7 separate regions of the Homo sapiens genome follow, and all the other regions are linked to region 1. The links are contacts of gene promoters, found by promoter capture Hi-C in blood cells and fetal thymus (Javierre and others, 2016). All regions are on one chromosome and are shown on one strand. The core of a region is centred on a gene start or on the middle of the fragment in contact, and the rest is flanking DNA. Distances in the headings are between cores, read along the strand shown. Region 1 holds the start of NSD1 (nuclear receptor binding SET domain protein 1). Region 2 overlaps EIF4E1B (eukaryotic translation initiation factor 4E family member 1B). Region 3 overlaps B4GALT7 (beta-1,4-galactosyltransferase 7). Region 4 overlaps FAM193B (family with sequence similarity 193 member B). Region 5 holds the start of PDLIM7 (PDZ and LIM domain 7). Region 6 overlaps GRK6 (G protein-coupled receptor kinase 6). Region 7 overlaps F12 (coagulation factor XII).

What was found. Contacts are between HindIII fragments. The CHiCAGO score rates a contact against its expected background, and 5 or more counts as called.
Region 2: a fragment that was not itself captured here is called in contact with the fragment with the promoter of NSD1 in region 1 in 1 of 17 cell types (total B cells); the score reaches 5.0 in total B cells.
Region 3: a contact is called between a fragment that was not itself captured here and the fragment with the promoter of NSD1 in region 1, in 1 of 17 cell types (neutrophils). The highest score is 5.7, in neutrophils.
Region 4: a contact is called between a fragment that was not itself captured here and the fragment with the promoter of NSD1 in region 1, in 1 of 17 cell types (monocytes). The highest score is 5.6, in monocytes.
Region 5: the fragment with the promoter of PDLIM7 here is called in contact with the fragment with the promoter of NSD1 in region 1 in 4 of 17 cell types (neutrophils, erythroblasts, M0 macrophages and 1 more); the score reaches 8.5 in neutrophils.
Region 6: a contact is called between a fragment that was not itself captured here and the fragment with the promoter of NSD1 in region 1, in 1 of 17 cell types (endothelial precursors). The highest score is 5.2, in endothelial precursors.
Region 7: a contact is called between a fragment that was not itself captured here and the fragment with the promoter of NSD1 in region 1, in 1 of 17 cell types (endothelial precursors). The highest score is 7.5, in endothelial precursors.

The regions. Positions count from the first base shown.
Region 1 is chr5:177,131,985-177,136,326 of GRCh38, forward strand. NSD1 (nuclear receptor binding SET domain protein 1) reads left to right here and starts at 1,789. Exons shown (of 23, transcript NM_022455.5): 1 at 1,789-1,968; 2 at 3,103-4,046. The coding sequence starts at 3,120. RefSeq lists enhancers at 780-1,331, 824-1,118, 1,332-1,885, 1,886-2,437, 2,438-2,991 and silencers at 1,155-1,824, 1,905-2,064, 2,125-2,424. The HindIII fragment of the contact is 6,719 bases long and covers 1-4,176 here.
Region 2 is chr5:176,643,039-176,647,380 of GRCh38, forward strand. It overlaps EIF4E1B (eukaryotic translation initiation factor 4E family member 1B), which reads left to right. Exons shown (of 9, transcript NM_001099408.2): 4 at 44-228; 5 at 601-696; 6 at 1,338-1,401; 7 at 2,092-2,205; 8 at 2,339-2,478; 9 at 2,828-3,606. The coding sequence ends at 2,942. Among named protein-coding and RNA genes, the nearest start is that of TSPAN17, 2.3 kb to the right of the region's middle. RefSeq lists enhancers at 406-1,047, 1,048-1,687, 2,269-2,779, 3,050-3,344 and a silencer at 4,018-4,342. The HindIII fragment of the contact is 4,593 bases long and covers 1-3,557 here.
Region 3 is chr5:177,603,027-177,607,368 of GRCh38, forward strand. B4GALT7 (beta-1,4-galactosyltransferase 7) reads left to right here. Exons shown (of 6, transcript NM_007255.3): 2 at 1,153-1,515; 3 at 4,276-4,342. Among named protein-coding and RNA genes, the nearest start is that of B4GALT7, 5.1 kb to the left of the region's middle. RefSeq lists an enhancer at 3,596-4,199. The HindIII fragment of the contact is 2,999 bases long and covers 262-3,260 here.
Region 4 is chr5:177,547,246-177,551,587 of GRCh38, forward strand. The region is part of intron 1 of FAM193B (family with sequence similarity 193 member B); the gene reads right to left. Among named protein-coding and RNA genes, the nearest start is that of FAM193B, 5.1 kb to the right of the region's middle. The HindIII fragment of the contact is 5,989 bases long and covers 1-4,342 here.
Region 5 is chr5:177,495,878-177,500,219 of GRCh38, forward strand. PDLIM7 (PDZ and LIM domain 7) reads right to left here and starts at 1,727. Exons shown (of 13, transcript NM_005451.5): 1 at 1,651-1,727; 2 at 540-646. The coding sequence starts at 635. RefSeq lists enhancers at 379-1,120, 2,333-2,382, 2,601-3,340 and silencers at 923-1,002, 1,413-2,122. The HindIII fragment of the contact is 22,050 bases long and covers 1-4,342 here.
Region 6 is chr5:177,442,069-177,446,410 of GRCh38, forward strand. It overlaps GRK6 (G protein-coupled receptor kinase 6), which reads left to right. Exons shown (of 16, transcript NM_001004106.3): 16 at 1-823. All of the region lies in intron 1 of PRR7-AS1 (PRR7 antisense RNA 1), which reads right to left. It also overlaps a transcript of PRR7 not described here. Among named protein-coding and RNA genes, the nearest start is that of PRR7, 2.6 kb to the right of the region's middle. The HindIII fragment of the contact is 806 bases long and covers 1,584-2,389 here.
Region 7 is chr5:177,403,935-177,408,276 of GRCh38, forward strand. F12 (coagulation factor XII) reads right to left here. Exons shown (of 14, transcript NM_000505.4): 3 at 2,028-2,127; 4 at 1,801-1,871; 5 at 1,389-1,499; 6 at 1,120-1,251; 7 at 876-980; 8 at 565-730; 9 at 262-479; 10 at 1-156. Among named protein-coding and RNA genes, the nearest start is that of F12, 3.5 kb to the right of the region's middle. RefSeq lists an enhancer at 1-607 and silencers at 1-22, 373-702. The HindIII fragment of the contact is 1,849 bases long and covers 1,610-3,458 here.

The DNA.
Region 1 (4,342 bases), core at 539-3,038:
GGGGAAGGGCCCGAGGGGCTGGAGTCGCAAGTTCAGGCCCAGCTTGGGCTCCCTGTCCCGCCCTTCCGCTGTCTTGGGGGATTGGACGCCACGCGGTCGTGCTAGATTCGGTGCTGCGGGCCCGGTGCAGGATGCAGGCCGTGAGGCCCCAGGCCGAGGGCTGCGCCAGCGGGCTTGTCCCGGCCAGCCGGGCGGTCCCGTGTCCCGGCGCAGCTCCGCTGGGGTCCAGATGCCCGGCCCTCAGGGGCGAGGCGCGCACTCCCCGGGGAACCGGGCTGCGGAGCAGGCGGCCCGCTCTGGGCGGCGGTGGCACGAGAGGGCCATCTGCCTGGGTGCCGAGAACTGCAGCGTCCGCGGTGCGAGGCGCGGCCCGTCCCGTCCCGGCCCCCAGCCCGGCGCGCACGCACATACCCACGCCGGCCGGCGCCCGCTGCCCGAGCCCCCGTGCCAGGCCCAGACCTTGACTAGGCGCGGGAGGCGGTGCAGGGACTAGAGGACCCCCTCCCCCGGCGTTCCCCTCGCCCCGCCCGAGGCTGCGAGGACCCCTGGGCTCGGGGGTGGTGAGGGAGCTTCGTCCCGGCTGGGCCCGGGCTGGGGACTCGGCCTCCCTGGGCGGGGGCCGCACGGCTGCAGGCCGAGGTGCGGACGCGCTGTCAGGCTGCAGCCCGGCTCGGTGCCGGGGGTGGGCTCAGCGCTGGGGTCGCCTGGCTTCGTTCCCCCGCGGAGGCCACGGCCGGGCGAGCAGTGCCGGGGCGGGTAACCCGACCCGGCTCCCCAGAGCCGCTCACCCCGCACGGCCCGGCAAGGGGAGGGAGAGGGATGGGGGGAGGGGGAAGGGAAGGGGTGGTGGGTGAGGGGCTGTGGGCACCGCAGGGCCGAGTCCCCGGCCCGTCTGCGCTGCTGTAGGGCGGCTGCCCGCGGCACCCGGGACGATCCAGCCTCTGCCTCGCGGGCGTCGAGCCTGAGACAGGAGGGAGCCCTGGGGCTGCACAGGCTTGGCTCAGGGAGGCAGACCCGAGCTGCTGCCTCCATTTTGTTTCCTGCTCAGCTTGGTCTGTGGTGGTGGTGGTGGTGGTGGTGTGGGTTTGGGGTGCGGCCGGGTAGGGGGTTCGCCTGCGGCCGCGTCTGCTCGGGGCCTGAGGCCTCGAAGACCCCAGCCCAAGCCCCCAGGTGAGCCCTGCGGCAGGAGGGGGGTTGCCTTGGCCTCGGGCCGAACCCAGCGGGCTGAGGGCAGGTGCCCAGTGGATGGGGAGCCTGGGCTGTAACCTAAGATGGAGGCCGGGACTGACGCGGGCCCGAGCAGGGCTGGCGGGACGATCGGACAGGCCTCAGCCGCGCCAGGTGCCGCCTGGGTTGGGGTTCGAGACGCGTAGGGTGCGGGAGCCGTGTGCGGCCCGAGGCCAGCGCCGTGCCCCGAGGTAGGTGAGGGGATCGGAATGCCACCCACGACGCCCGCAGGCCCCGACACTCCAAGGAGGCGCGCGAGGCCCCTGGGGAGCCCGCCTCAGGCCCCGCCCGGGCAGCCGGGCCGGCCCGTAGGCCCCGGCCGCGAGCGGGCGCGCAGGGGGAGGGGAGGGGGCGGCAGCGGCAGCTCCGCTGATTGGGCGGCGCTCTCACAAGCCCGACTTCACCCGCCCTGAACCCCGAAGAGTGAGAGAAGGGAACGCGCGCGCTCGGTGGGGGAAGGGGTGCGCGCGCACTCGGGGCCCAGCCGCACGCGGGCCGGCGCGAGGCGCTCGGTCGCACGCGCGGCCGCGGGGGCGCGCGCGGTGGGGGTGTGAGGAGGAGGAGGCGGCGGCGGAATAGGCCGGGGCAGGTCGCGCTCGCTGCCTTCTCCCCTGAAGAGAGACGCGGGGGGAGGGGGGTGCGGCGAGCGGCCCCGCTCTCTCCCCACCGCTCCGCTCGCACCCCAGTGTAATGAGGGTCACCCCCTCCCCCCAGCTGGCCCGGGAGGGGGCGCGGGGCACGGTAACTAGTGCGCTGGGGTGGGCGGCGGGCAGGCGCGAGGAGAAGGGAGGGAGGAGGGTGGCCGGGCGGGGAAGATGGTGGTGGCCGTAAGGTGAGGGGCTCGGGGGAGGGCCAGGCGCGATGCGGGGTTGGTGGCCGGCGGCGCTGCAGCCGCCGGCCTCCTCCCCCTCCCCCTCCTCCATCACTACCAGCCGGGCTCAGGCCTAGCTGGCCGGGCTGCCGCGAACTTCCTCCCGGCGCGGCCCGTGCCCCGCCGGCCGCCTGCGAACACCTCGGCCTCCGCCTCCCCTCAGGTAGCAGGCTGCGGGGCGCGGGGCCGGCTGCCCTCCCGCAGCAAACTTTGCTTGCTGCTGAATATTGATGAGAGCGATCGGCTCGGCTGGGAGGTGCTGCCGCGGCTGCGGGAAGGAGCGCGGCCCGGGCAGGCGGCGGCGGCGTCGGCAGCAGCCATGTTTTTCGAGCTGTAGCAGCTGCTGCTACCCTGACTGGGCTTCGCTGGCCGCCTCGGTTTCTCCCTCTGCCGGGTCCAGGCCTCTTCGCCCTGCAGCTGCGGATCCAGCAGGCCTGCATTCAGGAAGGCGAGCTCTGGGGTGCAGCCGCCTCGGCCGGCTCGCCTGCGGCCTGCGCACCGCCGCTGCAAAGGCTCCGGCGCTGGCTGGGCGCAGGGTGCAGCGCTATTGTGACCGCTGCGCCCTAGCGAGCCAGGAAGGGGGGGGTACCTTTTTGTGCAGGGTCCAGGAGCCCCCCTCGGACCCCGCAGCCTTTTGCTTTTGAGAGATCCAGCTGCTCGACCCCTGGCGAGGGAGGGGGAGGACTAGTCCTGTTTGAGAATTGGGAATTTTGACGGGCAGAGGGGTTTTAATTTTAGTTCATCCCAAGTGTCCACCAGTCTACAGAGGAGGAAAAAGAGACGGGCTGTTTCTATGTAGCAGGATCGGCCCAGCTTCGGGAAAATGGAGTTTTCAGAGGCTCATCGAGGCCATTTTTTCATCTCCAGTCGGGGGAACTTTTTCTGCCCATGGAAGTGCAGCAGAAAGGCATAGAGGCCACTAGGCCTTGAAGTGGCTGCCATTTTAAAGAGTCGAGTCAGATGGCCTATTAACTCAGATTAATTGCTGTGCTTTTGGATTCCAGGTTGATGCCGGCCCAGGATGGATCAGACCTGTGAACTACCCAGAAGAAATTGTCTGCTGCCCTTTTCCAATCCAGTGAATTTAGATGCCCCTGAAGACAAGGACAGCCCTTTCGGTAATGGTCAATCCAATTTTTCTGAGCCACTTAATGGGTGTACTATGCAGTTATCGACTGTCAGTGGAACATCCCAAAATGCTTATGGACAAGATTCTCCATCTTGTTACATTCCACTGCGGAGACTACAGGATTTGGCCTCCATGATCAATGTAGAGTATTTAAATGGGTCTGCTGATGGATCAGAATCCTTTCAAGACCCTGAAAAAAGTGATTCAAGAGCTCAGACGCCAATTGTTTGCACTTCCTTGAGTCCTGGTGGTCCTACAGCACTTGCTATGAAACAGGAACCCTCTTGTAATAACTCCCCTGAACTCCAGGTAAAAGTAACAAAGACTATCAAGAATGGCTTTCTGCACTTTGAGAATTTTACTTGTGTGGACGATGCAGATGTAGATTCTGAAATGGACCCAGAACAGCCAGTCACAGAGGATGAGAGTATAGAGGAGATCTTTGAGGAAACTCAGACCAATGCCACCTGCAATTATGAGACTAAATCAGAGAATGGTGTAAAAGTGGCCATGGGAAGTGAACAAGACAGCACACCAGAGAGTAGACACGGTGCAGTCAAATCGCCATTCTTGCCATTAGCTCCTCAGACTGAAACACAGAAAAATAAGCAAAGAAATGAAGTGGACGGCAGCAATGAAAAAGCAGCCCTTCTCCCAGCCCCCTTTTCACTAGGAGACACAAACATTACAATAGAAGAGCAATTAAACTCAATAAATTTATCTTTTCAGGATGATCCAGATTCCAGTACCAGTACATTAGGAAACATGCTAGAATTACCTGGAACTTCATCATCATCTACTTCACAGGAATTGCCATTTGTAAGCAGTTTTTGGTACAACTTAAATATATACATATATGTATATATACAGGCCACTTAAAGGGAAACTTGTAACAAATTTGTTTTTGGTTGCTTATCAGTTCACAGCTGAAATCCTATTGCTAATCATAAGCTTTGGGCAAAATTTTACTTTGATTTTTAAATTTATCTCTGTTGTATGAATTTGGTTGTTTTAAGCTTTTTCCAAATAACTCTTCATTGAGAGTAGGCTAATGCTTTTAAAGGCATTTGATTGAGTTCAGGTTTAATTTCTCAAGTTGGAGGTATACATATATG
Region 2 (4,342 bases), core at 11-2,510, 490 kb before region 1:
GGCCAGAGCTCACAACCCATCCTGACTCCTTTTTTTGGCTCAGGTGAGTGAAGCTGAGGGTGGAATCCGAGAGTGGGAGGAGGAGGAGAAGGAGGAGGAGGCAGCAGAGAGGACGCCCACAGGAGAAAAGTCTCCAAACTCTCCCAGGACTTTGCTGTCTCTGAGAGGGAAGGCCCGGACGGGGGGCCCCATGGAAGTCAAGCTGGAGCTGCACCCCTTGCAGAACAGGTAGGCAGGAGCCTGCGAGTGGAACACAGCCCCTTGCTTTCAGGCCAGCCTCTGTGCTGGCAGCGTGGCCTTGGGCAACCCCGCCTCTCTTGGCCCTAGCTCTTCATCCGTGGGAGGCCAGGGCTGACCTAAGCCTTGGGCCCTGTTGGCCCTTCCAGCCCTAACCCCGCAGAGACTGTGGGTCAAACACCCCCACTCCTCCCCTGCCCTTCAGGACAACTGATTTCATTCACCTGAGAGGGGAATGCTGTGCCCCAAATCTCATCTCCCAGTTCGCCCTTGAAGGGGAGGGTCCTCCCTGTCAGTCCAGGTGCCCCGGGGGTGGACTTGGCTCTCTGCTTCCTCCTGGCTGCCTCCCCCTTCCCCTACCAGGTGGGCTCTGTGGTTCTTCAAGAATGACCGCAGCCGGGCCTGGCAGGACAACCTGCACCTGGTCACCAAGGTGGACACTGTGGAGGACTTCTGGGCGTGAGTGTCTGTCCCCAGTGGGGCTAGAGTTGGGGGGCTCTGAGCTCTGGGCTCCCTCTCTCCGGGTTGAGCCAGCCCTCCCTAGGGCCTTTCAGCCTTTGTGAGGGCTGGGGCTTTGTGGGTTCTGCCCAGGGGGTATAGGGCACAACCACCCCCCACCCCACCACCTTCTTTGGGCTCAGGGAGAGAGCCTGGGGAGCAGGAGAAGCAGGAAGCTGACCTTGACTCGGCCACTCCAGGGCTTTGTGACCTGGGCAAGTTCCTTCCCCTCTCTGAACCTGTCTCAGCTGCAAAGGGAGGACTCGGCTGCCTCAGTGTCCGGGTGCTCACGGGAGTGGCTCTGAAAAGGGCTACACAAGCCCTAGGGAGGGTGAGAAGGCCTCGGCTGTAGCTGGAGGGGGGAGCACCAGGGGGTCTAAAACCCTCCCCAGGGGTTGGCTCAGCCTTCACTGGGAAGGCTCTGTGGAAAAGGTGGGTCTTGAGAGTTTGGATAAACGGGAGTGGAATCCCAGGTGGCAGGCCAGTGTAAGCAAAGGCTTGGAGGCCATGGGGTCGGATGAGGAGTTGGGAGGGCTGAACCCAGTTGGAACCAGGCCCTAAAAAGCCTTGACTTTTGGCATGGGGTCGGGGGCTCTGTCCAGGCTATACAGTCACATCCAGCTGGCCAGCAAGCTCTCCTCTGGCTGTGACTACGCCCTCTTCAAGGTAAGCTCTGCTCTCCTCTTTCCCTCCCGCAAAGGGACAAGGGGTTGATCCCTCCCGGACTCCACTGCGTTAATCCCTCAGAGGGGTGGGGGTGGGGAGCTACGGGCCACCTCTCAGCAGAGTTGTGGTTTCTGACTGGAGGAAATGCTCTACAGGAGCCCGGACAGAGTAGGTCAGGCCCAAGCCGCACCTTGGAGGACCTTAAGAGGCGGGAAGAGGGAGAGGGAGAGATTTCTGACCTGGCTCCTTAACTAGGGAAGGGCATCAGAATTGCTTGAGGACACTCATTGATGCCACACCCATCCCTGGAGGGCTGACATTGTGTTTAGAGATCTCCCCAGTGACTTCTGCCCTGCCTGGGAACCATGCAGCCAAGCCTGGGATGTCCCCCTTGCCTGCATTGGGGTCTGCCCCTGAGGCTTCCTTAATCCACCCCGATTTGAATGCTTGTCTTAAGGAACTCAGTAAAAGAGACATGCACATATACAAGGCTATACAAGGTGACCAGTGCTGTCTGTCGGGGGGAGCTGAGTGGCTGGGGGTGGAACCTGCTTGCACTGAGGGAAGGGAGGATAAGAGAATCTGGCCTACTTAGGGCCTCAGCAGAGAGCGGATAAGGCCGGGATGGTGGGTGGGTCCCCATTTCCCTTTGAACACAGGGAGGCAGTTGACTTGCCATCTGCCTTGCAGGATGGCATCCAGCCCATGTGGGAGGACAGCAGGAATAAACGGGGTGGCCGCTGGCTGGTCAGCCTGGCCAAGCAGCAGCGCCACATTGAGCTGGACCGGCTGTGGCTGGAGACGGTGAGTTGGAGGAGGAGGGTCCTCAGGGGAAGAGACGGGCTGTGTGGGTCTCATGGTGGCAGTGGTCTCAAGGATGGCAGGCCAGTCCCTATGTCCCAGCCGGTGATCTCACAACCCCCTACTTCGGGTCCAGCTGCTGTGTCTGATCGGGGAGAGCTTTGAGGAACACAGCAGAGAGGTATGTGGGGCCGTCGTCAACATCCGCACCAAGGGGGACAAGATCGCTGTGTGGACGAGGGAGGCGGAAAACCAGGCGGGCGTGCTGCACGTTGGGTGAGGAGGGTCTCTGGCACAGGGTGGGGACTTGGGTCTCTGCTAGAGGGAAGGTGGGTGGAGGGGGCTTGGCCTGCATGGGAGACCTCTGAAAGTCTCCATAGCCTCCCTCCCTTCTGCCTTGCCCACCTGTATGGAAGGTCTGGCGTTCAGATTTCTAACTTTCTCTTACGGCAGTGCAGCTCTCCTTTTGCATTAAGGGGGTCATATTTTGGGTTTCCACATGGGTAAGACACAACAGGTGTGGCTGTGGCCAGAATGAGGGTAGGAGTCTGGTGGCCTAAGTTATCTCTAGGACCCTCTGATGACTACCTGTGTCTCTTTTCCTCTGTGTCCCCCGCACCTGCAGGCGTGTATACAAAGAGCGCCTGGGCCTCTCCCCAAAGACCATCATTGGGTACCAGGCCCATGCAGACACAGCCACCAAGAGCAACTCCCTAGCCAAGAACAAGTTTGTGGTGTGAGGGGGGCCTTGGCACCCCTCCTATGTAATGGGACAGCCGCCACTGAGCCTCATTACTTTGGGGGATGGGGCGGGACTGGGGATCAGACAGCCTAGTTCTTACCTGTCCTCAAGTGAACAGGAATGCAAACACTCTTTAACATGAGTTGGGGCCTGAGCCTTAGGGGCTAGATGGGGGTAGTGGTGGCAGTCTGAGGACCTAGCTTGTCCTGGGGCCACAGGACAGCAGCAGGGTGGAAAAAACTCCTGAGGGTGGGGTGAGTCATGGCGGGGAAGGAGGGCTCTATGGTAGGCGGAGAAACCCATAGTCCAGCGTTTACTGTTTCCACCCAGGAAGGAGGTGAGGTGGCCTGAGAGACAGACTCTTCCATGGGTGGTGGGCTCAAGGGCACAGACATTCTGGAGGGTGAACGCCATCATTTGTACAGAGGGATACGTGGGTTGCTGAGGACTGAGAGAGCCTTGCAAGGCCGCTCCCCTTCTCCCCAGCTGTGACCAGGGCTGTCTGGGCCTTGCCTGCCTCAGGGCCAGACTGAAGTGGAGGTGGAGGGATGCTGGGCTAGGCCTCACCAAGGTTCTGGTAGAAGTGGTGGAAGTGGATAAACTTGATAATAAAAGCTTAAGCATCTTTCTGTTCCTGTTTTAAATAAATACTTCTGAACAAAGTTGGAATTATTTTTAAGAGGGCTTCAAACTGGAGTAAGATTCAGGTTCCCCCAAACTTTGATCTGCCTCTGTCCTGTCTTACAGGGGCTCATGTGAGATCACTGGGTACCAAGGAGCCTGACCGGGACCCTGGCCAGTATGGAGGACAGGGGGTGTGGCTGGGGAAACTCAGCCACCAAGGGGGCTTGAGCCAGGTTCCGGGGGGCATATGCCCCTGGCAGGGCGCAGCCGGCGTGGCACCAAGGCCCAGGCCCTCGTTTGGCCTGAGTTTGAGTCAGGATAAGTAGAGCTGGATTTCCGCTGGGTGAAGGTGAGCCTGATGCGACTCCACAATGACAAAACGTCCTGCACGTGTTAAAAACTCAATCCGGACCAGCTTCCCCATTCGCCTGCCAGAGCAGCAGTTAACCTTCCCCTGGGATGGGCTCCAACAGCAGGCTGGGGATTGGGATGGCGCTGGTACCCAGCAGGGGAAGCAAGGCTTCTACACCCCGGCGGCCTCCGGCGCCATCAGCCGGCGTCCCGGGCGGGTCTGCAGGACGCTGGGAAACGCGGCGGCGGCCTGCGCGGGGGCGGGGCCTGGCCGAAGGCGGGGCTGCGAGGAGGTCCGAATCAGGCTGTGGGGGCGGAGCTCGGGAAGCGGAGCCAGGTCCAGAGGCGGGGCTCAGGCGGGACTGAGTTGATCTATGGGGGCGGAGCCAGGTCAGGAGGCGGGACTCCAAAGGGACTGAGGGC
Region 3 (4,342 bases), core at 511-3,010, 470 kb after region 1:
CGCGTACCACCACACCCAGCTAATTTTTGTATTTTTAGTAGAGATGGGGTGTTACCATATTTGCCAGGCTGGTCTTGAGCTCCTGACCTCGTGATGCACCTGCCTCGGCCTCCCAAAGTGCTGGGATTACAGGCGTGAGCCACCACGCCTGGCCAGGAGATAGAATTTATAAGACCTGATAGCTAATCGCTGACTCTTAAGATTGTGAAGTGGATTCCTTTGCAGATTACTTTGGGGAGAAGGTAGGGGGAGTACAGAGGAAGCTTCTCCCTTCATGGATTCCTCAGCTCCTGTCTCAGCATACTCAGGAACTTCCAGAGGAGCGGCAAAGGAATCTGGTGAATTCTGTTTCTTTGTATTTGCTAACCAAAAGGCTGTCTCCTGGCATCACCCCAGTGTCTGTGATGTTCAGCTGTTTTTCCAGTTTCTGAAATCAGTGCCTGTGCTGTACCCAGCCCTCATCTTTCTTTCCCTCTCCATCTCCCATCTTTTATCATGAGCTGCCTCTTGGACTAAAGGTTTGAGGCTCGTTCAGTGAACCGCCACTGACAGTTTGGGCCTTGCATTGCTTCGGGGGGCACGTCTGATCTTCCCAGAGTAAACATTGGTCATTTTACCTGGACTAATGCCAGCACACACCCGTGTCTGGGTGGCCTTTCTGGTCATTCTTGGAAGCAGGATGGAGCCACGGTTTCTGCTGGGGTGGATCTGTAGGGGAGCGGGTTTGGAAAGCAGTGGGTTGCATCTCTAAGGTGGGGACTCCTGTCATTGGCTCAGGACATTGAGCCACTATCGTGGGGAGGAGCACCTGCAAGTGACAGGAGCCTCCTCATCCTTGCCCTGAGCAGCTCTGACCAGGACTCAGTCACAGAAAGTAAGAGAGCATTGAGGAGCCGGGGCAGCTCTGTGAACTGGGAGTGGTTCAGAGGGCTTCCCGAGAGCGGGTGGCATGGGTTGGGTCTAGAGAGGCAAGCAGGATTCGGATGCATGGTAGTGGCATGAGCAGAAACATTAAAGTTGCTTCTGTACTAATTCCCAGGTGCTTGGGGTAGACGAGTTATGTGCAGCCTCCTCGTGGGGAGGCCAGAGAACGGGTCTGTCACAGGGCCAGCCCTGCCCCGCCCTCCTGACCCTGTCCCGCGCTTGCTCCAGGTCCGGGTTGCTCTCCGGCGGCCTCCCTCGGAAGTGTTCCGTCTTCCACCTGTTCGTGGCCTGCCTCTCGCTGGGCTTCTTCTCCCTACTCTGGCTGCAGCTCAGCTGCTCTGGGGACGTGGCCCGGGCAGTCAGGGGACAAGGGCAGGAGACCTCGGGCCCTCCCCGTGCCTGCCCCCCAGAGCCGCCCCCTGAGCACTGGGAAGAAGACGCATCCTGGGGCCCCCACCGCCTGGCAGTGCTGGTGCCCTTCCGCGAACGCTTCGAGGAGCTCCTGGTCTTCGTGCCCCACATGCGCCGCTTCCTGAGCAGGAAGAAGATCCGGCACCACATCTACGTGCTCAACCAGGTGGACCACTTCAGGTAGCGCCCGCCCCCACCCTCTCCCCTCGGCACCCCTGCCCGGGCTCAGGCTTCTCAGGCCCTGTGAGAGGCCACCTGGGGCAGGGGCAGGAGGGCGGGAGGTGGCAGACCCCTCTCACTGGGTGTGACAGGAACCTTTGGAGAGGGCCCTGATCTAATTTCCATTTTGAAAAGCTCACTGTGGCTGCCGTATGTGGAATGGATTATACCAGGGCAAGAGGAGAAGCAGGGAGAGCAGTTAGGTGGTCACTGCTGTGGTCTGCGGTGACAGTGGCTTGATGGCCTGGTGGGGGGTGGGTAGAGAGAGGTGCTGTGGAGGAAGCCCAGACAGGACTCCCTGGGGATTGGCCCGGGGATTAGGGAAAGGGAGGGTCAAGGCCACGGCTTTAAAGTTGCCCACAGTCTGGCGTTATCCTAAAATCCCTGCCCTTACCAAAAAGTGCTCCCTTCCATGACCACAGCCTGAGATCTCACCCACCAGCCCCCACCTCCTTTCCCTCTAGGTAACTCCCACTGGAAGATGGATTCTCAGCCCCACCAGCCTGATCTTCCCACCTTTTCAAGTCCCCTTGATCCAGATCCCCAGACCCCCCCCTTTTCCCTGCCACCCTTCTTGTCTTTACTTCCTCCTTACCCAACCTGGAGTCCAAGGTCCATCATTAAAACCCTCCCTGGCATACTCCCTCAAGCCTCTGGTCCCTTGCTGCTGGCGTAATCCCAGCCTGATTTACTCCAGCTCTCTGCTCCACACCTGTGCCTGGGCACTGGAGGGTATGGAGAGGAAAGACAACACGTGAGGCGGCCATGCTGCTGTCCCCATGCCGATGATGCCCCTGCCAGGAAGGCCCTCTGCCCTGCTGGGAGCCTCACTTTCCTCTGGTCTGTCCACTGCAGCCTTTAAAACTATCTGTTCTCCTCATTCATCCCTCGTCCTCACTCATAGCTGACGACTTTGCTTCCAATTTCAGAAAACAGAATGAAATGGAAGAGAACTTTCCCCAGTTCCCTCCACAACTCACCTGCCAGCCTCTGTGCACAGGGACTCAAGGCTGTTCCAGCTTCTGTCCGGGCTGACTCCCACCATCCCCATCCTTCAGTATTTCCCCCCACCCCACAGTTGGGCCCTTCCTCTCCCTCTCGATCAGCGTTCCTCTCCTGGAGCATACCCATGAGCACACACACCCTGAAGTGGCTCCTCTCTCAAAGGAAAAAGACTCCCTGGATCCCACATCCCTCGAGGCTGTCACCCTTCTCTGCTTTCTGGCAGACCTCCTTCCCTTTCTCTCCCCTCGTCTCTCTTGAACCCCTTCCGCTCAGACTCCTGCACCCACCATGGCACAGAGCAGCTCTCACTGAGGTCACCAGCCACCTCCTCCACTCTGTTGGTCCAGAGGCCATGCTGGGCCCTCATCCTGTGGACCTGCCAGCAGCATCTTCTTTCGTAAAATGCCCCTGCTTGGGGCAGCACCCTCTGGTCCTCCCTCTGCACTGGCTGGGCCTCTGTGTCTGTGGGTTCTGCTCATCTCCCCGAGCTCTCACCATCGGGGCTTCTCTGGACTCGGTGCTTCGGCAGCCCCCCTTTTTTAACTCCAGGTGTTCCTTGGGGCATCTCATGTCATCTCCAGCATTAAACCACGTCTCTGATGATTCCTGAGGCTGTTTCCTGGAGTTCTCTCCTAAACTCCAGGCTCAACAGCCCAGCCATCTACACAGTCCCTCCACGTGGTGGCCTCAGAGCTACTGCAAGCTTCCATGATCACAGCTGAATTGCTGGTGGCCTGCCCTGCCCCAAACCTGTAGCTCTGTCCTCTTCTCCATGGGAATGGAAGCTCTTTGCTCTCATTGCTCAAGCCCAAAAGCCCGGGGGTCATCCTCAGCTGCTCCTTCTCTGTCATACACTGCGTCCTATTCGTCAGCAAAATCCATCTAGAATCTGCCCGCTTCTCGCTGTTGCCACTGCCACCTCCTGAGCTAGGCCACCTTCATCTTTTGGTCTCTCACCTAAATCATTGCCATAGTCTCCCAGCTGGTCTCCCTGCTTTCACCCCTGCTCTGACAGTCTCTTCCAGCACAACAGCTAGGGCGGTCCTGTCCAGGCATAAGTCACAGCACGCCTCTACCCTGCTCAGAGCCTCCATGGCACCCATCTTACCCGAGTCAAAGCCCCGTCCTTCAGTGGCCCTTGGGCCTTGTGCAGTCACTGTGTCACCCCCAACATCCCCACCTCTGCCCTCGCCCTGCCCAGCTGCCCGTTGGTCTGCTCCTGCCTCCTGCCGTGGCAGTGCCATCTCTCCTATGCAGAGCCCTAGGCACCCACTGCCCTGTGGGTCATCTCTTCAGGCCTTCAGGTTTCTGTCACTCAGTTCCCCTGGCCCTCCCTGACGGCCCCACCGAGGACAAGAGCCACCTCCACCCCCAGCAAGATCGCCCTCCTTGCCTGCTTTGCTTTTCCCCCCAGCACGAACCACTGCTGGCCACGCTTTGTGTTTGCTTGTTTCTGTTTCCTTCTATTGGAATCTCAGTTCCTTGAGAACAGGGCCTGGTTTTTCACTGCTGTACCTCCCGTGCTTTGAATGGTTTCTGGCACATAGTGGGTGCTTAGTAAATATGCGATGAGTGGAGGGACTGCCCCACAGGCTGAGTGAAGTCAGTGCTGGGCCAGAGGGCAGCATAGGCACCATGGGGACCCCCGGGTGGGTGCTGAGCCCCAGGCAGTGAGCCCGTGTGCTGCCCCTGCCCAGCCTTGCCCACCCTGCACAGGTTCAACCGGGCAGCGCTCATCAACGTGGGCTTCCTGGAGAGCAGCAACAGCACGGACTACATTGCC
Region 4 (4,342 bases), core at 949-3,448, 420 kb after region 1:
GAAACTTACTAAGTGAGACTTGCCCAAACCAAATTTATTTCTTTTTTTTTTTTTTTTGAGACGGAGTTTCGCTCTGTCGCCCAGGCTGGAGTGCAGTGGCGCGATCTCGACTCACTGCAAGCTCCGCCTCCCGGGTTCACGCCATTCTCCTGCCTCAGCCTCCTGTGTAGCTGGGACTACAGGCACGCGCCACCATGCCCGGCTAATTTTTGTATTTTTTAGTAGAGACGGGGTTTCACCGTGTTAGCCAGGATGGTCTCGATCTCCTGACCTCGTGATCCTCCCGTCTCGGCCTCCCAAAGTGCTGGGATTACAGGCGTGAGCCACCGCGCCCGGCCCCAAATTTATTTCTTGAAGCAAAGGACAGAAGGACTAGACAAGTGACTTCAAGGCCTCTTTGAACCCCCAGCTCCTTGTTTTCTGGCTATAACTTCCTAATAAAACCTTCAGTGTTTGCAGTTCCACCAGCCCCTTCTTTCTGCTTTAGTTTCCCTACATCATTTTTCACAGTAGATAGATCTACTCGTAGCTACCACTTGTGCTAAGCATCCTAAGCATGGAGGGGGAAATAATAAAGGGAGCTAAGGGCCTTTGGTGGAGAATGAAGGGGAGATGGACTGCAGCATGTTGGCCCACAGGCTGCACAACCATGCAGCTGCTGTGCTGGGAGCCACCCAGAGTCTGAAGGATGAAGGCAGGCTCACAGGCACAGAACCGAAGGCACACACACAGGGCCCTTCCCAAGACATAGCATGCCTCTCCTCAGTCCTTCTCTGCTTCTGCACATCCTGCCAAGAAGGACCAAATACATAAAGTAGTCACACCTTCCCATATGCTGTTCCTTCTGCCTTTTTCTTCTCTTTTTTTTAGGCTCGATCTGGGTGTTACATCCTCTTAAGTCCACAGGAAGAATGAACTTGGCTTTGCTCTAGGATATCCTAACACTCTTTTGTTTAAAAACGTATCTCTAGAATAGAGCTTATCATATATATTCTAGTGGTTGAAATCTGTCCTTTCCACAATACTGTGAGCTTTTCAAGGGCAGAGCCTGTGTCCCACAAGTCACTGTATTGCAGTCATTCAGCAGAAGCTGTAGCACAGAGTAGGCACAGGTAAGTGTTTGGATACACAATGGAAGATTATACACAATGGAAGTTGGCAAATATCATTAATAGATCAGAACTGGGGGAAGGTTTTTTGTTCTGTTTTAAACTAAGGTTGTTTCTGTTCTTGTTTATGGAAAAGCTCCTCCCTGGGAAACCCACTGTTTGAAGAATACCCTAGGTCTCCTCAAAGATCCCCCTGGCACCCTCAATTCAGCAGCTCCCAGACCCAGTCACATGTCAGAGTCACTTGGGAACAATTCAACAATAGATACCTGGGATCCAGACCTGGAGACTGACTCTGTAAGTCTGGGATAGGGTCCAGCAAAGCACAGGGGATCTGATGATTATTAGCTTGGGGCAAGGGAGAGGTGGAATCAAGCAATCACAGCTGTCTCTCCCACTGAGAATTACTTCCTCACATGCTATCAGAGAATGTATTGAAGCACATCACGTTCTCTTTCCTGCTTAAAACCTTTCATTGATTCTTCACCACCTACAGGATAAAGCCTAAACCTCTTGGTGTGGTTTTCAAGAACCCTGCTAGCCCCTTCAGCCGGATCTCTCCCGACTCTCCAAATGAGTGGTGCTCGCCCTGGGTCTTTGTACAAGTTCCTTCCTTTGTTTAGACTCCTTTCTACCACCTTGTCCTCTGGAGAACTTCTACACAACCTTGAAGACTCAGCTCTGAGAAGCATTCTCTGACCCATCTTCCTCTAGGTTATGTCTTGGGCAACCCTGACACCAAATATCTACAATACTCAGAGCTACCACTTGTGTTAAGCATACCGCACTTGTTGGACCCTAACATTAACCATGTAAGACTGGATTGTCTTTTCTTTTTTTTTTTTTTTTTTTTTTGAGAAAGGAGTCTCGCTCTGTCGCCCAGGCTGGAGTGCAGTGGCGCGATCTTGGCTCACTGCAAGCTCCACCTCCCAGGTTCACGCCATTCTCCTGCCTCAGCCTCCAAAGTAGCTGGGACTATAGGTGCCCGCCACCATGCCCGGCTAATTTTTTTGTATTTTTAGTAGAGACAGGGTTTCACCGTGTTAGCCAGGATGGTCTCGATCTCCTGACCTCGTGATCCTCCCGCCTCGGCCTCCCAAAGTGCTGGGATTACAGGCATGAGCCACCGCGCCCAGCCTGGATTGTCATTTTATACATGAGAAAACAAACCAAGAGGCTGAAACACTTGCAAAGGCCACTTAATAGGGTCCAGGATTTGAACCTTTATTCAGAGGAAGCCGATGCTATATCTCCTTCTAGCATTACTGCAATTACTATACACACGTTCTCTAGACTATGAGCCCCTTGTGGGAAGGGACTATGTCTGATTCACTTCTGCATGCGCAGCTAGCCCAGGCCTGGCACAGAGCTGGGATCGGTTAGTGTCTGCACAATAAATGCCATGTGAAATAAAACTGGGCATCACAGCATGCGAATGGCTGGCCTAAATGAATAACTGCCAGCCTGGCCCAGTTGTGGGGGCAGACAAGAACAAAGTGGTAGAATCCTTACTTATTATAATTTTTAACAGCCATGTATTGAGTATATAAGGTCCACACACAATATATTTCCCCCCAAATAAATTAAAACATAGACCCTGCTCTAAAAAATTCTAGATGAGGTAAGTAAAGGTGTTAGGATCATCCATCTGATATCAAAAATTAAAAATTTAAAACTCAGCTGGGTGTAGTGGCATGCACATGTAGTCCCAGCTATTTGGGAGGCTTAAGGAGAAGTATCACTTGAGTCCAGGAGTTTGAGGATAGCCTGGGCAACATAGCAAGATCCTATCTCTAAATTAAAAAAAAAAATTAAAATCCTAAGTGGGTAAGTCTTCATTTTCAAAGGTCTTTTGACATTTTTATATAGTGAGTCTCTACTGGCTTACAAAGAAGAACCAGAGGTGGCAAGGATCCCCTCAGTATCATTTCCTCCTACTGACAATGGAAGTAGTGCAGGCTGGGTAGGCACTGATTCTAAGGGGGAGGTCCCCAAAGATAGGAACTATCTTATCCATCTGTGCACCCCAAATAAAGGTCCTGGCACAGAGGTGGTTTTGGTATCTGCTGAGTGAATTAAACATAATGAGATGCTTTTATTAAAGATACTGACTAATCATCTGCTCCAATTTCTTGAGGGAACAGTGGAAGAATCGGATCTCTAGAGTCCCTTTAAACTAGACTGGGCAAAGTCCCAGAGGACAATGTGGAGGGAACAAGAGGTGGGGAAGGGTAGGATGAGTTCACCTCTCCTCACCAACTGCTGGCTTACATCCTAGCAAGTCTCCTGGGGGCTTATTGAGTGTACACTGGATTACAAACTCAGTGGTCCAAGAGAGATGAAAGACAGCTAGCAGAGCTAACAGGCCAGAACACTCAGGCTTTGTATGGCCACCTGGCACAGCTCCTGCCCCCTCTCTTAGGTGAGGCGCTTCTATGTACTAGCTGCTGCATAGGTTGCTTCTCTTGTGAAGTATTATTATTATTTTAAAAGGAGACGGTGTTTCCCTCTCTCCCCCAGGCTGGGGTGCAGTGGCGTGCACATGAAGTCCTGGGTAACTTAATTCCTGGGTTCAAGCAATCCTCCCGCCTCAGCATCCCAACTAGCTGAGACTATAGGTGTGAACCCATGCCCAGCTAAGTTTTGATTTTTTTTTTTTTATAGAACCAGAGATCTCACTATGTCACCAATGCTGGTCTCAAACTTCTGGCCTCAAGAGATCCTCCTGCCTCAGCCTCCCAAAGTGCCGGGATTACAGGCGTGAGCCACCAAGGCCTCTTGTGAAGTTCCTGATGGGGTCAGAGAGAAGCAACTTGCGGAGTCACAAAGCTAGGAGGCTAAGCTGGGAATTCAATCCAAGTCTCTAAACACTATTCCCCACTGCCTCCTACAATTGCTTTTTCAGTTGTTCTTTATTTTTTTTTTTGTTTGTTTTGTTTTCCTTTGCTAATAAGGTAGTAACTGTTTCAGCCTTCTTGTGCTATAAACGAGGATTTGGGTTGTTAGGAAACAGATCAATGTGGTTTAGTGGCCTGAAACAATTGAAAGCCATTTGGGATCCCAATTAAACTCAAGGTCCTGCTTTAAATGTGTACAGGTTATGCCAATGAGTGAAGGGGCCTGGAAAGAACCAAAGATGCCTAAGGAGCATACGCTGTCTAAAAGGGCCAAATGCTACTCAGAGACTACTGATTACTGCCTTGTGGAAAAGTGGACCCAGCATCACCATATCT
Region 5 (4,342 bases), core at 477-2,976, 360 kb after region 1:
AGACCCCTTCTACCCACAAAAAATGTACGCCATGCTGTGCCTCAATTCCAATCCCTGCTTCACCATGGACTCGATGAGCGAGCCCCGCCACCTCTCCATGAGTTCTTCTCTCATCTGGAAAAACGGGATGAGGATTGCTATTCCCTGGGCGGCAGTGAGGCTGAAGTGAAATCCTATAGTCACAGTGTCCTGCCTGGGGCCTGGCTCCAAGCATTGCCACCTCAAGTTTAGATACCTCCTGAAATGTTAGGCTCCCATCCTGCACAATGAGCCTCCCTCCAGCCCTCAGAGGTGGCCACAGGAGCTTGGGAGAACAGCATCGGGTACAGTGCAGGGCTGGAGAAGCCTGGGTGCTCCCTCCCAGTATCCACCTCATTGGGAGTCCTTGTGGCAGGCAGGTACCACTACATCTCCGGACCTAGACATCTCCTGGCCTGCTGGCCCCTGACCAGCTCCTGTTAGGACTCCCCCCATCACCCTCTGGAGACCTAAGCACCGAAAGACCGCTGGGGGAGCCCCCTCCCCAAACCTAGGCTCACCCGGGAAATGGAGAGGGGCACATTGAAGTCCTTGCCCCCTTGCAGCCGGAAGCCCCAAGGTGCTGGCCCCTCCAGCACTACTTTGAAGGAATCCATGATGCCGGCTCCTGAGAGGAGAGAAGAGAAGGTGAGTGGCCAGCATGGTGGGCGGGCAGGCAGGCAGGCCGGGCCAGCTCAGGATACCAGCCTTGGACAGGGGCCAGGCAGGCACGGGCAGCCCCTGAGCACGCCCAAGCCATAGGAGGCAGGTATTTTGTCAGGCTGGCCTGGGCTGCTGGCTGGCGGACCTCACTTTGGAAAGACAGGAGCAGCCCCCCTCCCCTTGGGACTGGAACGGTGAGGGGTGCCTGAATCCAGGCTTGAGGTTCTTTGCAACCAGGGGTGGGCCGAGGGACTAAACTGGCGCGGCCTCCCCCCAAGCCAGCCTGGAGCCTCGGGCGGCCGGGTGAGTCAGGGGCCGGCTCTCCTCTCCCCCGCCCCCAGGTCCCGGCAGGCAGGCCGCGGCTGGAGCCTGCTCGGACTATATAAGGCGTGTAAGCTGACACTGTGCGGAGAGCCAGCGGAGGGAGCACACGGGGGCTTGGGACGCGAGGGGGGGGGGAGGGGAGGGGAGGGGAGGGGAGGGGAGGGAGGCGGCTGCAGCGGATCCTCCTAGCCATTCCGGGACCAGTCGAGGCTGCTGGGAGCCAGGGCGGGACCCCTGGGTGCTGAAGAAGGGGAAGGCGGGAGTGGGGTGCGGCCCCTGTGGAGACAGATGGGGGCTGGGACCCTCAAGCATAGCTTGGAGGGGGATCCTTCCCCGAGCCCAGTGGGGGGTGGTGCCTCCCACACAGAACTGCTCCCACACCGACGTGACTCAGTTTCCCCTTAGTCCCCCGCCCGGGCCCCATGCATTAGACTGGCCCCGGCCGCAGGAAGCGGCGCAGGCGCCAATCGGCCCCGCCGCAGCCGGCTTAGCGGCAGGAAGGCGGGGGCGGGGGCGGAGGCAGGGGCCAGGGCCAGCGGGAGGAAGCACAGCCTGGACCACGACCCCCAGTGCCCTTTGTGGTCCTCAGCAGGCCCCGGGCGCCCGCCTGGTGCAGCCCAAGACGCCCCGCGCGGTCGTCGATACCTGCTTGGCCCGGCCAGGGCGCTGCTCTGCGTCGGGCTCCAGGGAGCCTCGTTGGGATCGGCCGCCAGTGTTCTGACCCCGCCCCCACAGCCACCCTCCACTTTGAGCGCGCGGACGGGGGCGGGGCACCAGGCCACGCCCTCGTCGCGACCACGCCCACTAGACTTTCTCCGCTGGTGGAAAGCCCCACCCAGCTCTTCCGTCCTGCCCAATCACCAAGTCCCGTCGGGCTTAGAGCTGAGAGGCCTCGCCGACCCGGGCCCTGCAACGGGGCGGAGTCGGGAGGGGGCCGGGGCTGCGGGTCGCCTCCTTAGGGAAGCGCTGCCTCGCCCAGTCCCTCGCACCGCCCGCTGGCGGAGGGAGAGGAAAGCGGACCTTCAAACCAGACCGACCTGGGACATAGTAGTCTCTGAACCTTAGTTTGCTACTCCGAAAAATGGGACGATCATACTCGCCTCGCAGGGCTGCCGCGAGTGTCGGTATCGTAGGCGCAACCCTCGGGGACTGCAGAATCTGTAAATCAGAGGGGCTGGGGGAGACAAGTTGAGGGGGACAGGGGCGTTTAAAGCTAGAGTTGCGCAACGCTCTGCCGAAGGCAGGAAAACAGGGCAGGAGCGGACGCCGGATGTCCCTGCAACCCCGAGCCGACCCGCGCACCGTCGGAAGCGCCGCGTCCCGCTCCACCTTGGCCAGAGCGGACTGCGCCGCCTGGGAGGCGTCCTCAGAGTCCCGGCCCCGCGTTCAGCCCAGGCACTAGGGCCGGCGGCACGGACACTGAGCACATGCGGGTGTCGGGGTGAGGGAAGGGGCGTCCACCCTCCACTCGCTTGGTGGTCCCGGCCCATCACCTCCTCCTAGGACAGAGTCGCTGCAGTTCTCCCCTCTCCATCCACAGTCATCACACCCACCCTGTTCTGCACAAACCGCCGTGAGAGTTCTCGTCGTTAAAGACCTTCTCTTGACCCCACATCCCTCTCCAGCTACTACCCTTTAATTCTCCTCTCGAGAGTAAAATTCCTCCAGGGAGTTGTCTGTTTATCGCGTCTCCACTTGCTTTCCTTCAGTTATCTCTTGAAGCCATGCCAGGCGGGCTCTTGTCCGCACCCGTCCCCTGAGATCTCTCTTCTCAAGGTCCCCTGTGGCCTGGAGGCCATGGGGCCATGGAATCCGTGGTGGTTAAGTTTCATCCTGCCCTGCCTAGGGGCAGCACTGGTCCAGGTTGATCCTTTTCCGCGAAACACCCTTTTTCCCTGGCTTCACAGCTTCCCCCTGCCCCACTGGCCCCTCCTTCCCATCCTCCTCTGCCTCTGGCCTTGGCCATCTGATGTCGCCTCTCTTTATGCTCACCCCCTGAGACCCCGTACTGTCCTGTGGCTTTCAACACCACCTATATGCAAAGGCATCCCATGTTTCATGGCCAGCCTGACCTCTCCCCAGGAACTCTAACTCCATTATCCAAAACCCTGCCTAGATGTTTACTAGATCAGGGGTCCCCAACTCCCCGTTTGTGGCCTGTTAGGAACTGGGCTGCACAGCAGAAGGTGAGCAGCGGCAAGCCAGAGAAGCTGAGTGCAGCGGCAGCATTAGACTCCCATAGGAGCGTGAACCCTATTGTGAACTGTGCATGCGAGGGATCTAGGTTGCTCATTCCTTATGAGAATCTAATGATAAATGGGCCGGGTGCAGTGGTTCACGCCTGTAACCCCAGCACTTTGGGAGGTTGAGGCGGGGGAGGATCACTTGAGGTCAGGAGTTCGAGACCATCCTGGCCAATATGGTGAAACCCCGTCTCTACTAAAAATACAAAAATTAGCTGGGCGTGGTGGCGCATATGCCTATAATCCCAGCTACTTGAGAGGCTGAGGCAGGAGAATGACTTGAACCTGGGCAGCAGAGGTTGTAGTGAGCCAAGATGGCTCCACTGCACTCCAGTGTGGGTGACAGAGCGAGACTCTATCTCAAAAAAAAAAAAAAAAAAAGAGTCTAATGATAAATGTACTGCACTCGAACCACCCTGAAACCATCCCCACCCCACCCCCAGTCTGTGGAAAAATTGTCTTCCATGAAAGCGGTCCCTTCTGCCAAAAAGGTTGGGGAACCACTGTACTAGGTATCTCAGACCATCATGGCCCAATTCAAACTTGTGCCTTTCCCACCTTCCTAACTCCTTCCTCACTTCAAGAAGTGCCACCAACATTTATCCAACTGGTTCAGCAGAAACGATGAAGTTATCCTTTCTCTTCTGTCCTCCCCCAGATTCTGCAAATTCCACCTTCAACATGTTCACATCTAACCGCTGCTGCCACCATTGTCCCAGCCACTGCCATTTTGTGCCTGCGCCCCTGTAACGGTCTCCTAACGGGCATCCCTGCTTTCACCCTTGCCCCTTCCAGAGTCTTCACGAAGCAGCCAAAGTGATATTTTTAAAGCCAGAATCACAGCACCATGTCACTCTCAGCTTTTAGCATTCCAGTGGGCTCATATTGCACTCAAAATAAAACTGAAGTCCTTAAGACCTACAGAATATGAATAAACTGGGTCTGACTCCTACCACTCGCTCCCTCCACTCCAGCCACCCTGACCTCCTCACTCACATTTCCTCCAGCAGGCCAAGCATATTTCTGCCTCAGGGCCTCTCCACTTGCCAGTTCCCCTGCTTGAAACACTTTTCTTTTTTTTTCTTTTTTCTTTT
Region 6 (4,342 bases), core at 737-3,236, 310 kb after region 1:
GAGCATTCTTAATTCCCGCCGCAGACCTGGCGCCCCCGCCTTGGCTCCTGGGGGCAGCCAGCCCTGGCTGGGAGAGCGGGAGCTGGCAGAGGAGCCACTGCCAAACTCAAGGCTCCTCTGGCCCAGCTTGGATGGCTGAGGGTGGTCACACCCCTGAGCCTTCAGCACTGTGCTGGCCACCCCGGCCTCTGAGTAAGACTCGTGCCTCCCCCTGCTGCCCTGGGCTCAGGCTGCTACCCTCTGGGGCCCAAAGCTGTCCCTTCTCAGTGCTTGTCAGCGCTGGGTCTGGGGCCTCTGTATGCCCTAGGCCTGTGCCAAAGTGGCCAGAGATTGGGCTGCCTGTGATACCCATCAGCCCACTGCCCCGGCCGGCCCAGATAGGTCTGCCTCTGCCTTCCAGCTCCCACAGCCTGGTCCCTGATACTGGGCTCTGTCCTGCAGACACCTCTTTCAGAAACGCCCAAGCCCAGCCCCTAGGAGGGGGTGGGGCATCCCTGGTCAACCCTCAAACATTCCGGACTCCCCTCATAACAATAGACACATGTGCCCAGCAATAATCCGCCCCTTCCTGTGTGCGCCTGTGGGGTGCGTGCGCGCGCGTGTGTACCTGTGTGGGTGAAGGGGATAGGGCGAGGCTGTGCCTGTGCCCCAGGTCCCAGCCCTGGCCCTTCCCAGACTGTGATGGCCATCCTGGTCCCAGTGTTAGGGTAGCATGGGATTACAGGGCCCTGTTTTTTCCATATTTAAAGCCAATTTTTATTACTCGTTTTGTCCAACGTAAGCTGCCACATGTCTCTGTGTGAATAGTCCGAGCACAAACCTGGCTAGCCGCCCCTGCCTGCCTCTTTCTTGCTTCCGGTGCTCCAGGGGTCTTCCTGCTCCCCTGGCCCAGCTGGAAGCGGGAAGGGATTGGAGGTGGGCCTGGAGGGAAGCAGGGTGTGCCCTTCCGAGGCCCAGGAGCCCCCAGGGCTGACTCTGAACTAGCCTCTCCAGACAGCCAGGCTTTGGTAGCCTTTGGGCTCACCCAGTGGGTTTCCCAACTTCCTAAATGGGATGGGGCCTAAGGAAAGAAGCCTTGGGTACCCACTGGGATGTGGGTCTGTTTCTGACTGCTGGTAAGGCGGGCCCCGTTGGTGTCCTCCCCTCCAAGGCTAAGGTGGCCTGGCTGCCTAAATGTGGACGTAAGAGTAGGGTGGGAGCTGTGTAAGGAATGTCTGCCCCAGGCCTGCGTTACCTGGACGCCAGCCATGTACGGGCCCCGGGCTGAGGCACGTGCATCATATCCACCCCTCTGTTTTGCCCTTGACACATTATGGGCAAAGACCTAGACAGTGGGTGACGCTGGCAGATAGGCTGTGGCCAGTGTGGGAGAGTTCTCTGAAGACGGTGGTTGAGCCGGCCTCGAAGTGGACATTCACCTGGGAGGAAGGGGGACTGGGAGGCACTCAAGGGGAGCTTCCTGCCTGGGCTCTGGGGCTGAGAGCTTGTTGCCTACCAGTCTGTCCCAGATCTGGCAACCCCATCACTGCTCTATAGACTCCCAGTGTCCCCAGCTCCCTGAGAATGCCCCGTAAGCCCCATCAAGCTTGTTCCTGGCCTCTGGACTGGGCACCCAGTGCTGCAGGAGCCATGTGAGCTTTGTAGCTGACAGTTCCAGGTTCAAGCCCCAGCCTGGCCACTTTTCAAGTTGGCCCTGCACAGGCGCTTCCCTGATATGGAAAGGTAGGTGTAAGACCCATCACCTTTCTGGGCAGCTGTGAGAATCCACCAAAGCAGCCAGCCAGCCCCTTGAGTTCCCAAGCCACCGCAGGACTCCCACCTGCTGGGGAGTGGTGCTGAGTACCAAACTAACCACCTGGCTTAAGCACAGCCAGAAGGTGCCAAGCCAGCAGCCTGGCAGAAGGGGCCTTTTGTGGCCCCACTCATGACATGTGGAGTGCCTGCTGCTTCCCACCAACCTAAGGGAAGTAAGGGGAGTGGGGACCTGCTCAAGGTCTTCCAACTGGTTAAGTGGCCATTGCAGGGTGGGGAGGAAACCAGGTAATGATGGGAAAGCTGGATCCTACCCATGTATCATGAGAAAGGAGCCTGGGGTGGGTTTGCCCCTCTGCCCCAGGCTGTTATGAGGTGGGAGTGGGGGATTTTTAGGTAGGTGTTAGCATGTCATACCAAAGCCCAGCCCTGGGCAGGTATGCAAGAGAGCGCGTGCCAGGTGGATGTGCAGGACCCTGAGGCACTCTGCCTGCACCTGGATCAGGACACCCTGGCCAGCTCCCCCTTGGGCTAGGGAGGCATCCAGGGAACTTCTTGGCTAGGGTTAAACTCACCTTAAAGCTCTTAACACAGTGGGTCCTTGGCAGAGGGAACTCCCAGAATTCATTTCCCAAGAAGCTTCCCTGAGCTGTCCTCCATGCCCAGCTCTATGGTGGGAACTGGGACCCAGATGGAGACGAGGCCCCTGGCAGCTTGGAGCTCAGTCTGGTAGGGAGGCAGACGTGGGAACAGCGGGACCCAGTGTGATCAGCACTGTGGAAGAGAGGATTCTAGAGCTGACAGGGTTGGGGGTGGGGCAGCACCAAACAGGGAGGCCCCTTGACCCTGAAGGTGTCAGAATTGGTGCCCTCCAGGACACAGGGTCAGATGTACCCAAGTAGAGGAGCCAGATGGATGGTCTAGGGCTTTAGTGGTTTAGGATGGCTGAGCATGGGAGGCCAGGGGTGGAAGCAAGGAATGGCTGGAGCTGAAGTCAGTGAGACACAGCCAGCTTTGAAAGCTAGATTAAGGATCACAGGGTTAAGGCCCAGATGGGGCCTCATCTGGAAGGTAGGGGATTCCCTGAAGGGTTTTTACTGGTTGTGTTGGGGTGTTTGCTCCAGCATGTACAAAAGCACCCCCAGTCTCTGTCCATGTGGTTTAGACGGGGCTGGGCTTGCACCCCCTGCACACGCATACTCCACACACATACCTAGAGTGAGAGAGCCAGGTGGGAATGTTGCAAGTGACAGAACTGTCCTCCCGCTAACTTAGAAGGTGTTCCAAGGATATGGAGGAGCTTCGGGGTCTTAGTTGTGGGCTCCATTCTCATCAGGAGACACCCACCAGAACCAAGATGATAGAGCCATTTGGTTTTGCCTCTTTGAGCCCAGTTGCAAACTCAAGGAGTCTGAGTGGCCAGGCTGGATACCTGCCTGCTGTGCACTGTCAGGGAGCAGGGCACTTGGGTTCACAGTTTCACCAGGATGGCACCCGTGGGGCAGTGATTCCCCCATTGAAATCAGGGTGCCTGTATACAAAGAAAAGGGAGCGGGTACTGGGAGGCCATTCCCTTTGCATAAGGAGCACATATCCTCTCCCTTAACACACAGGCACTTAGATTGGTTCACTGATAGAGACTCAGCCCAAATGAGTCCAAAAAGAATCATTCATGGAGTTGTTTGCTTGTATTTTGCTCAAATGATGGGGAAGGAATTGGGGTTCCGTTTTCCTCCAGGGATAGATGGCAGGATATGAGCCTAGGGCTGTTGGGGTTGTCCTCGCTACTTCTTGGGGTGAGCTTGCCTGAGAGTGATGCAAACAGAAGCAGATACGTGCCTGACACCATTGCGGGAACACCTGGAAGCAACTGTGACCAAAGCTAGAATCTACCCTGGGACTTGCCAGTTGCATGAACCAGTCCCCTTTGAGCTCAAAGCTTTTTCTTTTCTTTCTCTTTTTCTTTCTTTTCTTTCTTTCCTTTCTTCTTTCTTTCTCTTTTATTTTTCTTTCTTTCTGTCCTTTCTCTTTCTTCTTTCTCTTTTTTTTTTTGAGACAGGGTCTCACCCCCTCCCTTAGGCTGGAGTGCGGTGGCGTGATCTCGGCTCACTGCAACCTCTGCCTCCCGGATTCAAGCGATTCTCCACAGGCGTGCAGATTTTTTTTTTTTTTTGGTAGAGACGGGGTACAGCTCAAACCTATTTGTTTGGGAGTTCTGTCACTTCAACCCCAAATGTTCCAGCTAATATGGTGGTGGAGGGGTTTTTGGCAAATCATCTTAAGTGCAGTAGAGAAGTTGGACGAAAAACAGCCCAGTTAAGAGGCCGATGGACAGCCAACTTCAGAGTGGCCTCTGCAAGCTTGGACCTCGGGGTAGACAGTGGGGCGCTCTCTAGGGGTCATCTGTTCCCTGCTGGGGTAGGGGGGAGGCATGTCCACGGAGGCCAGGGCTGTGGGTTCGGCACTAGGTCCTCCTCCCCGTGGCTTCCTAGTAGGCATGTGGTGGTGTACGCCTGCTGGGCACCTAGCGAGAGGGGTCGTGAGTTGGGAGGGAGCCACGTTGGGGTGCCTGCCTGCTCGGGGGCCCCTG
Region 7 (4,342 bases), core at 1,284-3,783, 270 kb after region 1:
AGTACAGCGCGGCGATGTAGGGGTGCGCCCCGCGTAGCGCCACCAGCCCGCCAACGACGCGGGTCATCGAAGACAGACTCTTGCGGAGCCGCTGCCCGCAGCTCAGTGGGCCGTTCCTGGTCAGGGAAGGCGGCTGCTCCCGCTTCGCCGGCAAGGCTGTGGAGGAGCAGGGGCTGAGGACGGAGAGCCCGCGGCCGGCTGGCCGGAATCTAGCTCGCCCGGCGCCCTCTCGGCTCCTCCTTCCCCCCCCCACTTCCTAACCTCCCGGGGTCTGGGACTGAGGCGGGGTCCGGGTCGTGGGCTGAGGCTTCGGCGGTGCCGGCTGCGCGGGCATGAGTGGGACATGAAGCCTAGGGGACACCGGGGTCGGAGGCGCCGCCTGGGTTGGGGTCTGGCACTGTGCCAGGTCGCAGTACTCCCAGCTCAGCCGGTCGCGGTTCAGCACGAAGCACCACGGGCGGATGTCGTTGTCCGGGTTCCTGTAGCCACACGACGGGGCGCCGTTAGAGCGCCGGGAGCCCGGAGCCCTGGGGCGGAGGGGTCACCCAGCCCCACGCGGCGCACCGGCAGAAGGCGTGGCCGCCCAGTCCCCAGTTCCGCGCTTGCTCGGCAGTCACGTTCCGGTAGGTGGCCTCCGAGGCCCACGGCTGACAGGGCGCACCCGAGAGCGTGGTCCTGGCCAGGCCGCGGTAGCTGAGCCCGCGGCCATCATAGCAGCTTGCCTTGGTGTCTGAGGAGAAAGGGGGCTCCCTGGGCAGCCAAGGCTGGGCTCTCCTGCCTCCCTCTCATCTGCTTTCCGCACTCTCCCTCCTCCTTCCTGGCAAGCCCGTCCCACCTGGGGGCTGGCCTTCTGCTTGCCCCAGACCCTCACTCACCCACGTCGCAGAAGGCTCCGGTGTAGCCCACCGGGCAGTGGCACAGGCGGTGGCCCTCCACCTCTAGGCAGCGACCCCCATGGAGGCACGGGTTGGTGCGGCAGGCTTGGGGAGGGAACGCAGTGAGCCACCCCTGGGCCTAAAGACCCCCCCAGAGAGCTCTCCTTCCTGGCACACCACCCGGCCTCCTGCCAGCCTGTCTTCCTGACGCTCCTCCCTGGCCCGTTCCCAACCATCTGCTCACCCTGGCTGGCCAGCCGCTGGCAGTGGGCATCAGGACCCTTGCACTGGCATCTGGCCACAGCTGCTTGCTCAGTTCTATACCATATCTCATTCTTGTGGAAAAACCGGAGAAGCTGAGGCTCAAAGCACTTCTCTGGGGACAAAGAGGGATAGTGGTCTCAGGAGAGTCTAGGACCATGCCAAGTCTCCGAGTATCCAGCAACCTATTCTGTAGGCCCAGGGTTGCCCCTGTCCCCCAGCACCCCGCCCAGGTCCTCCACATCTCCTCACCTTTCTGGCAGTGGTTTCCAGTGAGGTGTTGTGGACAGAGACAGTGGGGGCCGCTTGGCATGTTCACACAGGTCCCTCCTTTCTGGCAGGGGCTGTGTTTGCTGCAGTGGTCTGAGAGATGGACATGGTGGAAGGAAGAGCAGGGAGCTGAGTCACACAGCTGGGGGCCAAGGCCCTTCTTGAACCTACTTGCCTTGTGACCTTGCTACTCCAAGTTTCCAAGCTTGGTTTACCCACCTGCAAAATGGGACCACTCCTTCCCAGAACTCTCCCTCTGGACTTCCAAAGGGTATTGTGGAGGGAGAGAAGGGGCTGGGTCCAGAATCCCAGGTGTGTGGGGTCTGGTGATACCAGGAGAGTAATGAGGCGGGAGGAGAGAGCCCCAGGCCACCCCAGAGGCTGTGTGTAGCACCTTTCACTTTCTTGGGCTCCAAACAGTATCCCCATCGCTGGTCCTGATCAAAGTTGGGGGTGGTAGCACACCTGTAGAAAGAGACAAGGCTTCCCTGCTCTACCCAGGGGCCTGGCCCACCCTGCCCTATCACAGTCCCCTCTCTCCAAGCAGAGTTCCTTGGACAGAAGGACAGGCAGGGTACATGTCTCCCAGGCCCCTGCTCCAACTCCTCTGCGTAGTCTTACCAGGGCTGAGGGCCTGGCCGGCCCTTGTGGGTACATTTGTGGTACAGCTGCCGGTGGTACTGGAAGGGGAAGTGGCAGGGCTCCCCGGTGACAGTGAGAACTGCAGGGACAACACACTCTCTGAGGACTTCCCCTGTACTCAACTGCTCAGGCACTGTCCCTCAGGGTCTGGTCAGGAAAAGGACAGACCCTCAAAAAGGTCGCTGTGCATTGAAAACACTTTCTGCTCTAAAAGTTGGGTTCAGGGCCGGGCGCGGTGGCTCAAGCCTGTAATCCCAGCACTTTGGGAGGCCAAGGCGGGCAGATCACGAGGTCAGGAGATCAAGACCATCCTGGCTAATACAGTGAAACCCCCTCTCTACTAAAAATACAAAAAAATTAGCTGGGGGTGGTGGCAGGTGCCTGTAGTCCCAGCTACTCGGGAGGCCGAGGCAGGAGAATGGTGTGAACCCGGGAGGCGGAGCTTGCAGTGAGCCGAGATCGCGCCACTGCACTCCAGCCTGGGTGACAGAGTGAGACTCCATCTTAAAGAAAAAAAAAAAAACTTGGGTTCAGGAGTCAGATAGCTGGAGTAGACTCCTGACTCCACAACCTGCTAGCTGTGTGACCTTGGGTAAGTCTTCAGTCCCAAGGCCAGGAAGAGCACTTGCCACAAAGTAGGCACTTAATAATACTTGTTGAATGTTGAAGTCACTGTTAACCACTCTGATCTGAGCCTTGGTTTCCTTATCTGTAAAACGGCAGTAATAATAGTACAGTTGATCCTCATTCTTCTCTGGTTCTACATTGAGAATGTGCCTACTTGCTGAATTTTATTTGTAACTCCCAAGTCAATACTTGAAATGTTTTCATGGCCATTTGTGGGCATGCACAGAGCAGTGAAAAATTTGCACATTCCCAGTTAAGGTTCAACAAGGCGTCACGCTGCTGCTGCTTGTTTCAGCTCTCCTATTGAATGAGTGTCCTTCTCAGTCTACTTAGTGCAACGTTTTTCACACTTTGTGCTTTTGCTGGGGATTTGGCTTTTGGAAATGGCCTCTGAGCCTCCTGCTGAAGAGCTGTGTAGTTCCTAAGCACAAGAAGGCTACCTTAGGGAGAAAGCGTGTGTTAGACACTTGATTCAGGTGTGTGCTATAGTGCCATCAGCTTAGCATTGATGAATCAGCAACACATATACTAAATAAAATGTCTTTAAACAGAATCATACATAAAACCAGATTATATGCTGTTGGTTGATGAAAATGTTGTGACCAGAGGCTCACAGGAACCTAATACTGTTTGCTAGTTCAATGTTCACTGTGATTTTATAGAACATAACCATCGCGAATAATGAGAATTGCCTGTGTCTTCTTCAGAGGAATTGTCGTGGGGCTTCATGAGATAATGCCATGAAATGCTGAGCAGTGTCTGGCACAAAGTACCTGCTCAATAAGCTTTTGCCACTATTTTGTTCAAGGCAAAGTGCACTTGCCAAGGACCAAACCAGAACTAGGACAGTAAATGGAAATGGATCTGAGATGGACCTTTAAGATGCAAATGGGGGCCAGGCGCGGTGGCTCACGCCTGTAATCCCAGCACTTTGGGAGGCTAAGGTGGGCGGACCACCTGAGGGCAGGAGTTCGAGACCAGCCTGGCCAACATGGTGAAACCCTGTCTCTACTAAAAAATACAAAAATTAGCTGAGCATGAAGTTGTGTGCCTGTAATCCCAGCAACTCGGGAGGCTGAGGCAGAGAATCGCTTGAACCCAGGAGGCGGAGGTTGCAATGAGCCAAGATCGCGCCATTGCACTCTAGCCTAGGGGACAGAGCGAGACTCCATCTCAAAAAAAAAAAAAGATGCAGATGGGATGGACGGACAGAGAGGAGGGGGACCTTAGGCAGGGGATTAGGCAAGGATAGGGCACCAAGTTTGGGTAAGGCAAGAGAGAGGAGAAACTTTTGGGTGTGGGGTGAAGAGAGGAGGCTGAGGGAGTCCAGGGTTGGAATGTGCTGGGCCTCAACGCCATGCTTAGAGACTCAACCCCACCAAGTCAGGCCCACCAGGGTAAGGTCCATCTGGTTCACAGGCCCTGCTATGTGCCACACTCTAGGTAAATTTTTTTTTTTTTTTTGAGACGGAGTCTTGCTGTGTTGCCCAAGCTGGAGTGCAATGGTGTGATCTTCGTTCACTGCAACCTTCACCTCCCAGGTTCAAGCAATTCTTCTGCCTCAGCCTCCCGAGTAGCTGGGACTACTGGCGCATGCCACCATGCCTGGCTAATTTTTGTACTTTTAGTAGAGACAGCATTTCACCATGTTGGCCAGGCTGGTCTCG